Linked DNA regions of Homo sapiens: region 1 is linked to region 2. Evidence: promoter capture Hi-C in 16 types of primary human blood cells and fetal thymus (Javierre and others, 2016). All regions are on one chromosome and are shown on one strand. Each heading gives the region's core, a stretch centred on a gene start or on the middle of the fragment in contact. The rest is flanking DNA. Distances are from core to core; before and after follow the strand shown.

The links. The method cuts DNA at HindIII sites, captures the fragments that hold promoters and counts their contacts. A CHiCAGO score of 5 or more calls a contact.
Region 1: a contact is called between a fragment that was not itself captured here and the fragment with the promoter of TEX14 in region 2, in 2 of 17 cell types (M0 macrophages and monocytes). The highest score is 5.2, in M0 macrophages.

Annotation. Positions count from the first base shown.
Region 1 is chr17:58,945,455-58,951,018 of GRCh38, reverse strand. All of the region lies in intron 1 of PPM1E (protein phosphatase, Mg2+/Mn2+ dependent 1E), which reads right to left. Among named protein-coding and RNA genes, the nearest start is that of TRIM37, 160 kb to the left of the region's middle. The HindIII fragment of the contact is 708 bases long and covers 2,628-3,335 here.
Region 2 is chr17:58,688,124-58,693,311 of GRCh38, reverse strand. It overlaps TEX14 (testis expressed 14, intercellular bridge forming factor), which reads left to right and starts at 1,267. Exons shown (of 32, transcript NM_031272.5): 1 at 1,267-1,373. It overlaps IGBP1C (IGBP1 family member C), which reads left to right and starts at 1,267. Exons shown (of 2, transcript NM_001395966.1): 1 at 1,267-1,373. It overlaps RAD51C (RAD51 paralog C), which reads right to left and starts at 710. Exons shown (of 9, transcript NM_058216.3): 1 at 524-710. The coding sequence starts at 668. RefSeq lists enhancers at 353-522, 853-952. The HindIII fragment of the contact is 6,974 bases long and covers 1-5,188 here.

The DNA of each region.
Region 1 (5,564 bases), core at 1,732-4,231, 260 kb before region 2:
ATCACGAGGTCAGGAGATCGAGACCATCCTGGCTAACACAGTGAAACCCCGTCTCTACTAAAAATACAAAAAATTAGCCAGGCATGGTGGCGGGCGCCTGTAGTCCCAGCTACTGGGGAGGCTGAGGCAGGAGAATGGCGTGAACCCAGGAGGCGGAGCTTGCAGTGAGCAGAGATCACGCCGCTGCACTCCAGCCTGGGTGACAGAGCAAGACTCCGTCTCAAAAAAAAAAAAAAAAAAAGAACCAAACAGGAATCTTAGAGCTGAAGAATTCAATGAATGAAATAAAAAATACAATAAAGAGCTTCAACAGCAGACTAGACCAAACAGAAGAAAAAATTTTTGAACTTGAAGACAGGTCTTTTGAAAAAACTCAGGCAGAAAAAAAAAGAAAGAAAAGAAAAAAGAATGAAAACAGCATATAGGATTTATGGGACACCATTAAGCAAACAAATAATTGCATTATGGGCATTCCAGAAGGAGAAGAAAAGAGAGATGGTGTAGAAAATATACTTAATGACATAATAACTGAAAACTTCGTAGGTCTTGGGAGAGACACAGATATTCAGATCCAGGAAGCTGGAAAGTTCCCACATAGATTCAACCCAAACAAGTCTTCTCTAAGGCACATTATAGTCAAAAAATAATTTTTTTTTTGAGACAGAGTTTCATTCTTGTAGCCCAGGCTGGAGTGCAATGGTGCAATTTTCGGCTCACTGCAACCTGTCTCCTGGGTTCAAGCAATTCTCCTGCCTCAGCCTCCTGAGTAGCTTGGATTACAGGCACCCGCCATCATGCCCAGCTAATTTTTGTATTTTTAGTAGAGACAGGGTTTCACCATGTTGGTCAGGCTGGTCTCAAACTCTCAACTTCAGGTGATCCACCTGCCTTGGCCTTCCAAAGTGCTGGGAATACAGGCATGAGCCACCACACCCAGCTGTCAAATTGTCAAAAGGTAAAGACAAAGAAATAATTCTAAAAGAGAATTCCTTTTCAAAAGAAAAGCATCAAGTCATATATAAGGGAATCTCCATTAGACTAGCAGCAGCTTTCTCAGCAGAAACTTCACAGGCCAGGAGAGAAAGGGATGATATAGTCAAAGTACAGAAAGAAAAAAAACTCAGCTAGCCAAGAATATTATACCCAGGAAAGCTATTCTTCAAAAATGAAGGAGAAATAAAATCTTTCCTGGACAAGCAAAAAATAAGAGAATTCATCACCACTAGTCTAGTCCAAGAGAAATGTTCAAGGGCGTCTTACATCTGGAAATAAAAAGATGATAACTGCCCTCATGAAGATATGTGAAATTATAAAATTCACCAGGAGAGCCAACAGAGAAAGAAGAAAGAGAAAGGAATAAATAATCTTATCACTACAGAAAACAACCCAACCACAAAAATAAATAATAGGAGGGGAAGGAACAAAGGTTACACAAAATACTCAGAAAACAGTCAATAAATGTCTGGAGTAAGTCCTCATCTATTAATAATAATCTTGAATGTAAAATGGTTAAAATTCCCAATTAAAAGAAACTGGCTGAATGAATTTAAACAACAACAACAAAGCAAACAAACAAAAACAAAAACAAGACCCAACTATATGCTGTCTACAAGAAACTCACCTCATCTATAAGGATATACACAGACTGAAAGTGAAGGGATGGAAAGAGATATTCCACGCAAATGGAAACCAAAAGCAAGCAGGAAAAGCTATATTTATATCAGCTAAAACAGACTTTAAGTCGAAAGCTATAAAAAGAGACAAAGAAGGACATTATATAGTAATTAAGGAAACAATTCAAGAAGCTATAACAATTGTAAATATACATGCACCTAAGACCAGCACACCCAGATTCATAAAGAAAATACTATTAGATCTAAAGGAAGAGACAGATGCCAATACAATAACAGCTGGGGACTTCAACACCCAACTCAGCATTGCAGAAATCATCTAGGCAGAAAATCAACAAGGAAACATCAGATAAACCATAGCATAGCTCTAACAGACATTTACAGAACATTTCACCCAACAGCTGCAGAATATGCATTCTTTTTATTAGCAAATGGAACATTCTCCAGAATTGACTACATGTTAGGACACAGAACAAGGCTAAAAAAATTTTTTTAATTGAAGTCATATCAAGTATCTTATCTGACTATGGAATAAAACTAGAAACCAATAACAAGTGAAACATTCAAAATTACACAAATACATGGAAATTACACAACATGCTCCTAAACAACCAATGGGTGAAGAAAGAAATTAAGAAGGAAATTGACTAATTCCTTGAAACAAATGAAAACAGAAACACAACATACCAAAACCTATGGGACTCAGCCAAAGCAGTATATAATATGTCTCTGCAGTAAAAATATGTATGAAAATTGAAATTAAATTTTTAAAAACTTTCTGTGACCATAAGGCTCCAGCGTTAAACATTTTCTTTTTCATTGCCTTATCAGTGTAACTACTGGTACACAAATGATCTAATATAGTATACACTTTGATAAACATAAAAATTAAACTCTCATTGGAGAATTTTTTTTTAAAGGAAGAAACCTTACTTGCCAGATAAGAAATCTTATCTGCCATGGTCTTGGCCTCAATGAAATCTTGGACCTCAAGCTTCAGCCTAATACCATAATGGGATTAGACTTTGGGAAATCTTAGGGGATGTTGGGTGAGTGCATTTAGCACATGGGAAGGATGTGAATTGTGTGGCCAGAAAAGACTGTGGCAGATTATTTTTAAAAAGGCCGCAACAGCATTCCTGGTCCCGCATGCTATTTTAGAACTTTGCCATTCCCCATAAAAAAATAGAGTCTGTTTCCCTTCCTAATCTAAACATGGGTGAGGTGTGGTGACTACTCGGATGAAAAAAATGTAGCAAAAGTGATACTGTGTGACTTTTGAAGTTTGTTCATAAAAGGCCACGTGGCTTCCCCCGGCTTCCTCTTCTTTCTTCCTCTGTCTCCCTCTGGATACTTGCTCTTCATACTCAGCCAAGCCATCAAGCCATGAGGAAGCCCAAACTAGCCATGTGGAGAAACCACATGAACAGGCTCATGTGGATGTAGCCTGAGGTCTCCCAGGCAGTAGCCATTATCAATTGCTTGACATGTAAGTTCACAAGCCTTCAGATGATTCCAGTCCCCCAGCCTGAGTCTTCCAACAGAGACCCCAGTTGGAACAGAGATAAGGTGACCTTGCTTTACCCAGTTTTAATTTCTGACTGAAAGACATTGTGAGCATAATAAATAATTGTTTTATGCCACTAAGTTTTGTGGTAATTTGCAATACAGTGACAATAACTGAAAACCCAATATTTAGAAGCTTAGTAGAAGACAAGGGACCTATGAAGACTAAAGAGAAATGGCAAAATCTGTAAAAGGAGAACCGAGATAGTAGAGAGTATTTGAAGGAGGGAGCAGTGAACTCTGTCAATTGCTGAGAGGTCAAATAAGTGAAAAAAAAAAAAAAAAGGCCAGGTGCAGTGTCTCGTACCCGTAATCCCAGCCCCTTGGGAGGCCAAGGTGGGTGGATCACCTGAGACCAGGAATTCAAGACCAGCCTGGCTAACATGGTGAAACCCTGTCTCTACCAAAAATACAAAAACTAGCTGGGTGTGGTGGTGCACGCCTATAATCCCAGCTACTTGGGTGGCTGAGGCATGAGAATCGCCTGAACCCAAGAGGCAGAGGTTGCAGTGAGCTGAGATCACGTCACTGCACTCCAGCCTGGGTGATAAAGCAAGACTGTCTCAAAAAAAAAAAAAAAAAAAAAAAGGCCAGGAGTGTGGCTCACACTTGTAATCCCAACACTTTGGGAGACCGAGGTGGGCAGATCACACTCAAGCCTGGGCAACAGAGCAAGACTGTCTAAAAAAAAAAAAAAAAAAAAAAAAAAAACAGGAAAAAGGAAAATAACTTTCTGTTTAACAAAATGGTCAAATGGTGCTGGAAAAATTGGATATCCACATGCAAAATAATCAAGTTGGACCCCTTCCTTACACCATATACAAAAATTAATGCCAAATGCATCACAGACCTAAATGTAAAGCTAAAACTCATAAAACTCCTAAAAGAAAACTCCTAAAAGAGTAAATCTTCATGACCTTGGATTAGGCAATGGTTTTCTTAGCTCTGACACCAAAAGCACAAGCAGAAAAGAAAAAAAATATTAAATTGGACTACATCAAAATTTAAAACTTTTGTATCACAAATCAGTAAAGTGAAAAGACAACCCATAGACTGGTAGAAAATATTTGCAAATCTGCCAGGCATAGTGGCTTATGTCTGTAATTTTGGTACTTTGCAAGGGGGTAAGGTTGGGGCCAGGAGTTTGAGATCAGCCTGGGCAACTTAACAAGACCCTGTCTCAAAACAAACAACAACAAAATAGCTGGGTATGGTGGGCACACCTGTAGTCCCAGCTAATTGGGAGGCTGAGGCAGGAAGATCGCTTTAAGCCCAGAGTCCAAGGCTGCAGTGAGCCATAATCATCGTTATATTCCAGCCCGAGAGACAGAGAGACCCTGTCTCAAAACAAAACAAAAAATTGCAAATCATATATCTAATGAGACTGGTATCCCAAATATGTAACGAATCCTTATATTTCAATAATAAAAAGACAACCCAAAGGCTTTTTTCCAAAGAAGATATACAAATGGGCAATAAGCACATGAAAAGATGTGCAACATCTGTGACATAATTGGAAATAAATATTTGTCCTCCGCCTTGGTTCCTGACACAGAGCCCCTAAAACCCTTTTTATTTCCTGAGTGACGGGGTACTGGAAGCATCTTCTAATATTTAGTCTTTGAACCTGGTTTCTGACATAGAGCTTCTAAATCCCTTGGAATTTCCTGTATAGTCTATGAGTGCCTTTTGGTCTTATGAAGCAGTTCTTGGTGGGCTACTGGATAGCTTCAGGATGGCAACTGGGCATCAGAAAGATCAACCCATAATAAGAGGCCTGGAATATTCAACCCTATTCCCATTTTCTAGGGAAGGGAGAGAGATGGGAGATTGACTTAATAATTATTTGAACATGCCTACGTGATGAAGCCTCCATGCAAATCCTTAAAAGATGGGATTTTGGGAGCTTCTGGTTTGATGAACATAACTATGTGCTAGAAGGGTGGCATACCCCACCTCCAACAGAACCTATTATGTTTGAGACCCTTCCCCTTCAGGACCTCACCCTGTATATCTCTCTTTATCTGGCTGTTCATTTATATCCTTTATAATATCCTTTCACAAACCAGTAAACATAAGTGAATGTTTCCCTGAATTTTGTAAGACATTATAGCAAATTATTTAACTTCGGAGAAGGTTGTAGGAAACCTTGATTTATAACCAGTTGGTCAGAAGTTTGGGAGGTCCAGACTTTTAACTGGCATCTGAGGTGGGGCATCTTGCAGGACTGAGCCCGTTATCCTGTGGGATCTGTTGTAACTCCAGGCAATTAGTGTCAGAATTGAGTTAAATTGTAAGACACCTAATTGATGTCCAGGGAGAAATGGAGAATTGGTTGGTGGGAAAACCCCACACACTTTTAGTGTC
Region 2 (5,188 bases), core at 18-2,517:
AGAGAATATTCTTTCTATGCTTCCTCAAGATTCCGGGGATTCTACTCTCTTTCTCATTCTTAGTGTCTCTAGTCCTACACAAAATCCTGCATTTCTGAAATTTAACCCTTACCCCTTGGATCTTGGAACAGCAAAAATTAGACAACCAATTCTGACTCCAGTATTTCCTAACCCAGTTAGCATGAAAAGTTACCTAAGCTCCCCAAGATATCAGTTCTCTCATCCATATACTGAATATAATAATCTACGTAAGCGGGTTGAGGGTTAAATGAGACAATCCTCAAAGCATTCAGCAGGCATTGCCAGAGGAAAAGCAATTAGTAAATGTTTTCACGACCACAGTTCTCCTAACCATTCAGACAACTTGTAAGTGGAGTCGAGGAGCTCTTTCACGCTGTAAACATGGACGTGGGAGGAAGCAGAATCTAACGGAGACTGGGCTGAAGGCCGAGGCGAGAGAACGAAGACTGAGGCGGCGCTGACGGCGGCCGGTGTGCCTCAGCTTGCCATCAGGAGTCGTTACCTTTGCTAAGCTCGGAGGGTTTCACCTCTAGGAGTTCCTCAGCAGTCTGGAACCCCGCAGACACCAGCTTCACCCGCACCGCTGGAGACAGCGGGAAACTCACCAAATCCCGCTGCATTTCAAAGCGGAACGTCTTCCCGCGCATCGCAGGCTCACCTGCTAACCCCGGAGCAGCCAAACTCCGCACGCCCTCGCTGGGGCGTGCGGCGTGACGTCAGACGTAAAGCGGAAGGGGCCGGCTCTGCGGCCTGGCCGCACGGGGCTCCGGGCCTTGCAGCTTTGCGCAGTCTTGTAAATTTTCACACTTATGCACCATTCCGTTTTGATTCCCCAAAATCCCATTTAGAGATTCCTCATCAAATGTACACCCTGACTGTAAAACGATGGACGGAGACCATAGGACGGAGAGCCAGGCCCAGTGGGTTCTCCACGCCACATTTCCTTGCCTCCACCGTGGCCTGTTAGGTGAAGCCTCAGAGTCATTAATAGGAATGATCTCGAGTGGGAGTAGTGAGCGTAACGGGCACACACTAGCCAGTTACCATTATTTTGGTGTGAAAAGCTCAGGGAACAATCATTAGAATTAATCTGCGTGCTCTTTGTAGAGTTGCAGTCTCTTGGCTCTTCCCGCTGACCGTCCCCCTTTTCTGACCCCCCCCCCCCGCAACGACCACATTGCTTTTCCCGCCCTCGCGAGGGATTGTGGGCCAGCCCCCAACGGCCGCTGGGAGGGATCAGTCCGCATTCCCCGCACCCACCCACGTCTTCCCGGGAGTCGTATCCCGAGCATGGAGGTTACTGAGACCGTTATTTCTTCATGGCCTGCCTAGCTTAAGCAGTAGCTGGAAAAGTAAGCAACTAATGTCCCCATTAGTGTGTCTGGGCTCCTGGGGTCCTGAGAAGGAGGGGCTGGGCTACACAAGAGCTCCTTTTGTGGTACAGACTTGGGAAGGGGTGTTCAAGCAGTGGTAGTGACCGCCTCTAAATTACAGAACTTCGGGGAGGAAGGCAAGCAGTTTAGAAGGTGGTTTATGAGTTCCTTCCTTGCCTAGGTGAGTGTAACTTATTTAGCAGGGGGTAACTTATTCCCTACCTATTGGCGATTTTTTTTTTTTTTTTTTTGAGACAGAGTCTCACTGTGTTGCCCATGATGGAGTGCAGTGGCACGATGTCGGCTCACTGCAACCTTCGCCTCCCGGGTTCAAGTGAGTCTCCTGCCTCAGCCTCTTGAGTACCTGGGATTACAGGCGCACGCCACCATGCCCGGCTAATTTTTGTATTATTATTAGAGAAGGGGTTTCACCATATTGGCCAGGCTGGTCTCGAACTCCTGACCTCGTGATCCGCCTGCCTCGGCCTCCCAAAATGCTGGGAGTACAGGCGTGAGCCACCGCGCCCGGCCCTGTTGGCAATGATTCTTAGTCTTGACTTTTCTTCCCAGCTTAGAAGAACTTTCTAAATATTGCAAATCAGAGCCCTCTACATACTTAGATCTAAAAAAGGAAACAACGTATGTTGAGCACTTTAGCAAATCCCACACATTTCAAATGGCCATAGCCATGCCAAAAGGAAGATAAGGACATGGAAGCTCAGCATATAGTTTAATATCAATTCTGATAAAAGAAAAAAAGCTGGCCGGGCGCAGTGGCTCGTGCCTGTAATCCCAGCACTTTGGGAGGTCGAGGCAGGTGGATCTCTTTGAGCTCATGAGTTTGAGACCAGCCTCGACAACATGGCGAAACACTGTCTGTACCAAAAGTACAAAAAATTAGCCGGGCATGGTGGCATGCACCGGTCGTCCCAGCTACTCAGAAGTCTGTGGTGGGAGGATCCCTTCAGCCTGGGAGTGAGCTATGATCACGCCACTGCACTCCAGCTTGGGTGATAGAGTGAAACCCTGTCTCAAACAAACAAAACACCTCAGCACAGTTTTCTTAAAGCCAAGATTCAAACCTAGCATCCTTTTTACTACCCCGAGCTATTAAGATTTTGAGTCCCTACTGGCGGGGAGAATACGAGAAGCATTTATACCCCATTTGGTAGGTCAAAGAAAGTCTTGTAGGACTGGCCAAAATGTGGTTGGCCACTCAACCCATTGCTTAACTTCTAATATGGTCTATATTTGAGCGCTCAGTGGATGCATAAATACTATCTTCAGGGAGATTTCATGCTTATGCTTATAAAGCACCCAGATTCTTGGGTGAAGAAAAAACATGGTATTACCACATTCAACAATAAGTCTTCAGTTAGTTTGGTCAAACTCAGTGGAATCAGTCGTGTTTAGAATTTCTTTCGTTGACAGTGGAAAGTTCAAAACTACTTTGGCCTGGCACAGTGGCTTAAGCCTGGAATCCAAGCACTTTGGGAGGCCAAAGAGGGCACATCGCTTGATCTCAGGAGTTTGAGACCAGCCTGGGCAACAGGGCAAAACCCCATCTCTACAAAAAATACAAAAATTAGCCAGCATGGTGGTACATGCCTCTAGTCCCAGCTACTTGGGAGGCTGAGGTGGGAGAACCAATTGAGCCCGGGAGGTTGAGGTTGCAGTGAGCTGAGATTGCGTAACTCCACTCCAATCTGGGCGACAGAGCGAGACTCCATCTCAAAAACAAAACAAAGCAAAATAAAAAAAACAAAAAAACCCCCACTCAACTCTATCTATAGCTGTATAATTTAAGTGCTATTAATATCTTCTGCAGATCACAAGGTCAGGAGATCGAGACCATCCTGGCTAACATGATGAAACCCCGTCTCTACTAAAAATACAAAAAATTAGCTGGGTGCGGTGGTGGGCGCCTGTAGTCCCAGCTACTCGGGAGGCTGAGGCAGGAGAATTGCATGAACCCAGGAGGCGGAGCTTGCAGTGAGCCTAGATCACGCCACCACATTCCAGCCTGGGCGACAGAGCGAGACTCCATCTCAGAAAAAAAAAAAAAAAAAATCTTCTGGCCCTTGCCTATAATAATTATTTTCATCATCATTCTTAAGATGTCTTTAATGCAATTTGCTCTGTAGTCATGCTTTCAAACTGGGATCCAGGTTTTTGAAACCACGCACTAGGAACTAAACAAAGCTATGGGATAAATATGGAAGGTGCACCTTCTTGTGTAATCACTTTTCTCAAAAAAAATCTTTCAGGGAGGGAAGAGTTAAATGATTTACCTAAGTCATTTGAAATGGTTTATATTAAGCAGACATTACATCTGTGTAGTGTGGATAAATCATTAAAATTTTTGAAAAAGAAAATAAACTTTAATAAAACATGGGGTAGGCCGGGCACGGTGGCTCACTCCTGTAATCCTAGCACTTTGGGAGGCCAAGGCGGGTGGATCATGAGGTCAAGAGATCAAGACCATCCTGGCCAACATGACGAAACCCTGTCTCTACTAAAAACACAAAAATTAGCTGGGCATGTTGATGTGTGCCTATAGTCCCAGCTACTTAGGAGGCTGAGGCAGGAGAATAGCTTGAACCCAGGAGGCAGAGGTTGCAGTGAGTGAGATCAGGCCACTGCACTCTAGCCTGGAAACAGAGAGAGACTCCCTCTAAAAATAAATAAATTAGCTGAGCGTGATGTCTCACGCCTGTTTCACAGCACTTTGGGAGGCCGAGGTGGGCGGATCACGAGATCAGGAGATAGACTATCCTGGCTAACACGGTGAAACCCCATCTCTACTAAAAATACAAAAAATTAGCCGGGTGTGGTGGCAGGCACCTGTAGTCCCAGCTACTTGGGAGGCTGAGGCAGGAGAATGGTGTGAACCCGGGAGGCAGAGCTTGCAGTGAGCCAAGATCATGCCACTGCACTCCAGCCTCTGTGACAGAGCGAGACTCCATCTCAAAAAAAAATATATGTATAGAAATAAAAACAAAATGTGGGGGTAAAATGCAAATATAAAAATAAAATTTAAGAGAAAAGTATGAGGTCAGAGACACATCAGGCTTAAACTGGATACTTCAGTAATCTCCCAAACCCCCCCCGGGAATATGTTTTGGTTTTTCTTGCAACTTGAGGTTACTTCATGAAAAAATTTGAGAGACATTGCTATGGGCAAACCAGCATGGGCTGCGGAGTCACACAGATTTGGATTTGTATCACATGTCTGGAAGTTACCAACTATGTGACCTTCAGCAAGTTACTCAGTCTCCTCACCTGCAAGTAGAAGATAATATCTCCTGGGGTTTTGGTCAAGATTAAATTAACACATATACAGTACTTATCACACAAAAAAGTACATAATAAATCTGAGTCTGTTTCTCAGTTTTTACAGCATTCTAATGCGCATATTCAGTTGGAATAAATCCTTATAGAATACCTAGCTCAGCAGAATGCTAATGCTGAGACGTTTTTTAAAAATGTTTACAATTAGGCCAGACACTGTGGCTCACACCTGTAATCCCATCACTTTAGGAGGCTGAGGCTGGCAGATCACTTGAGGTCAGGAGTTCAAGACCAGCCTGGGCGATGTGGTAAAACCCCGTCTCTACTAAAAATACAAAATTAACTGGGGGTGGTGGAGGGTACCTATAGTCCCAGCTATTTGGAAGGCTGAGGCAGGAGAATTGCTGGAACATGGGAGGCAGAGATTGCAGTGAGCCGATATTATGACACTGTACTCCAGCCTGGGCGACAAGAGGAAAACTCAGTCTCAAAAACAAAACAAA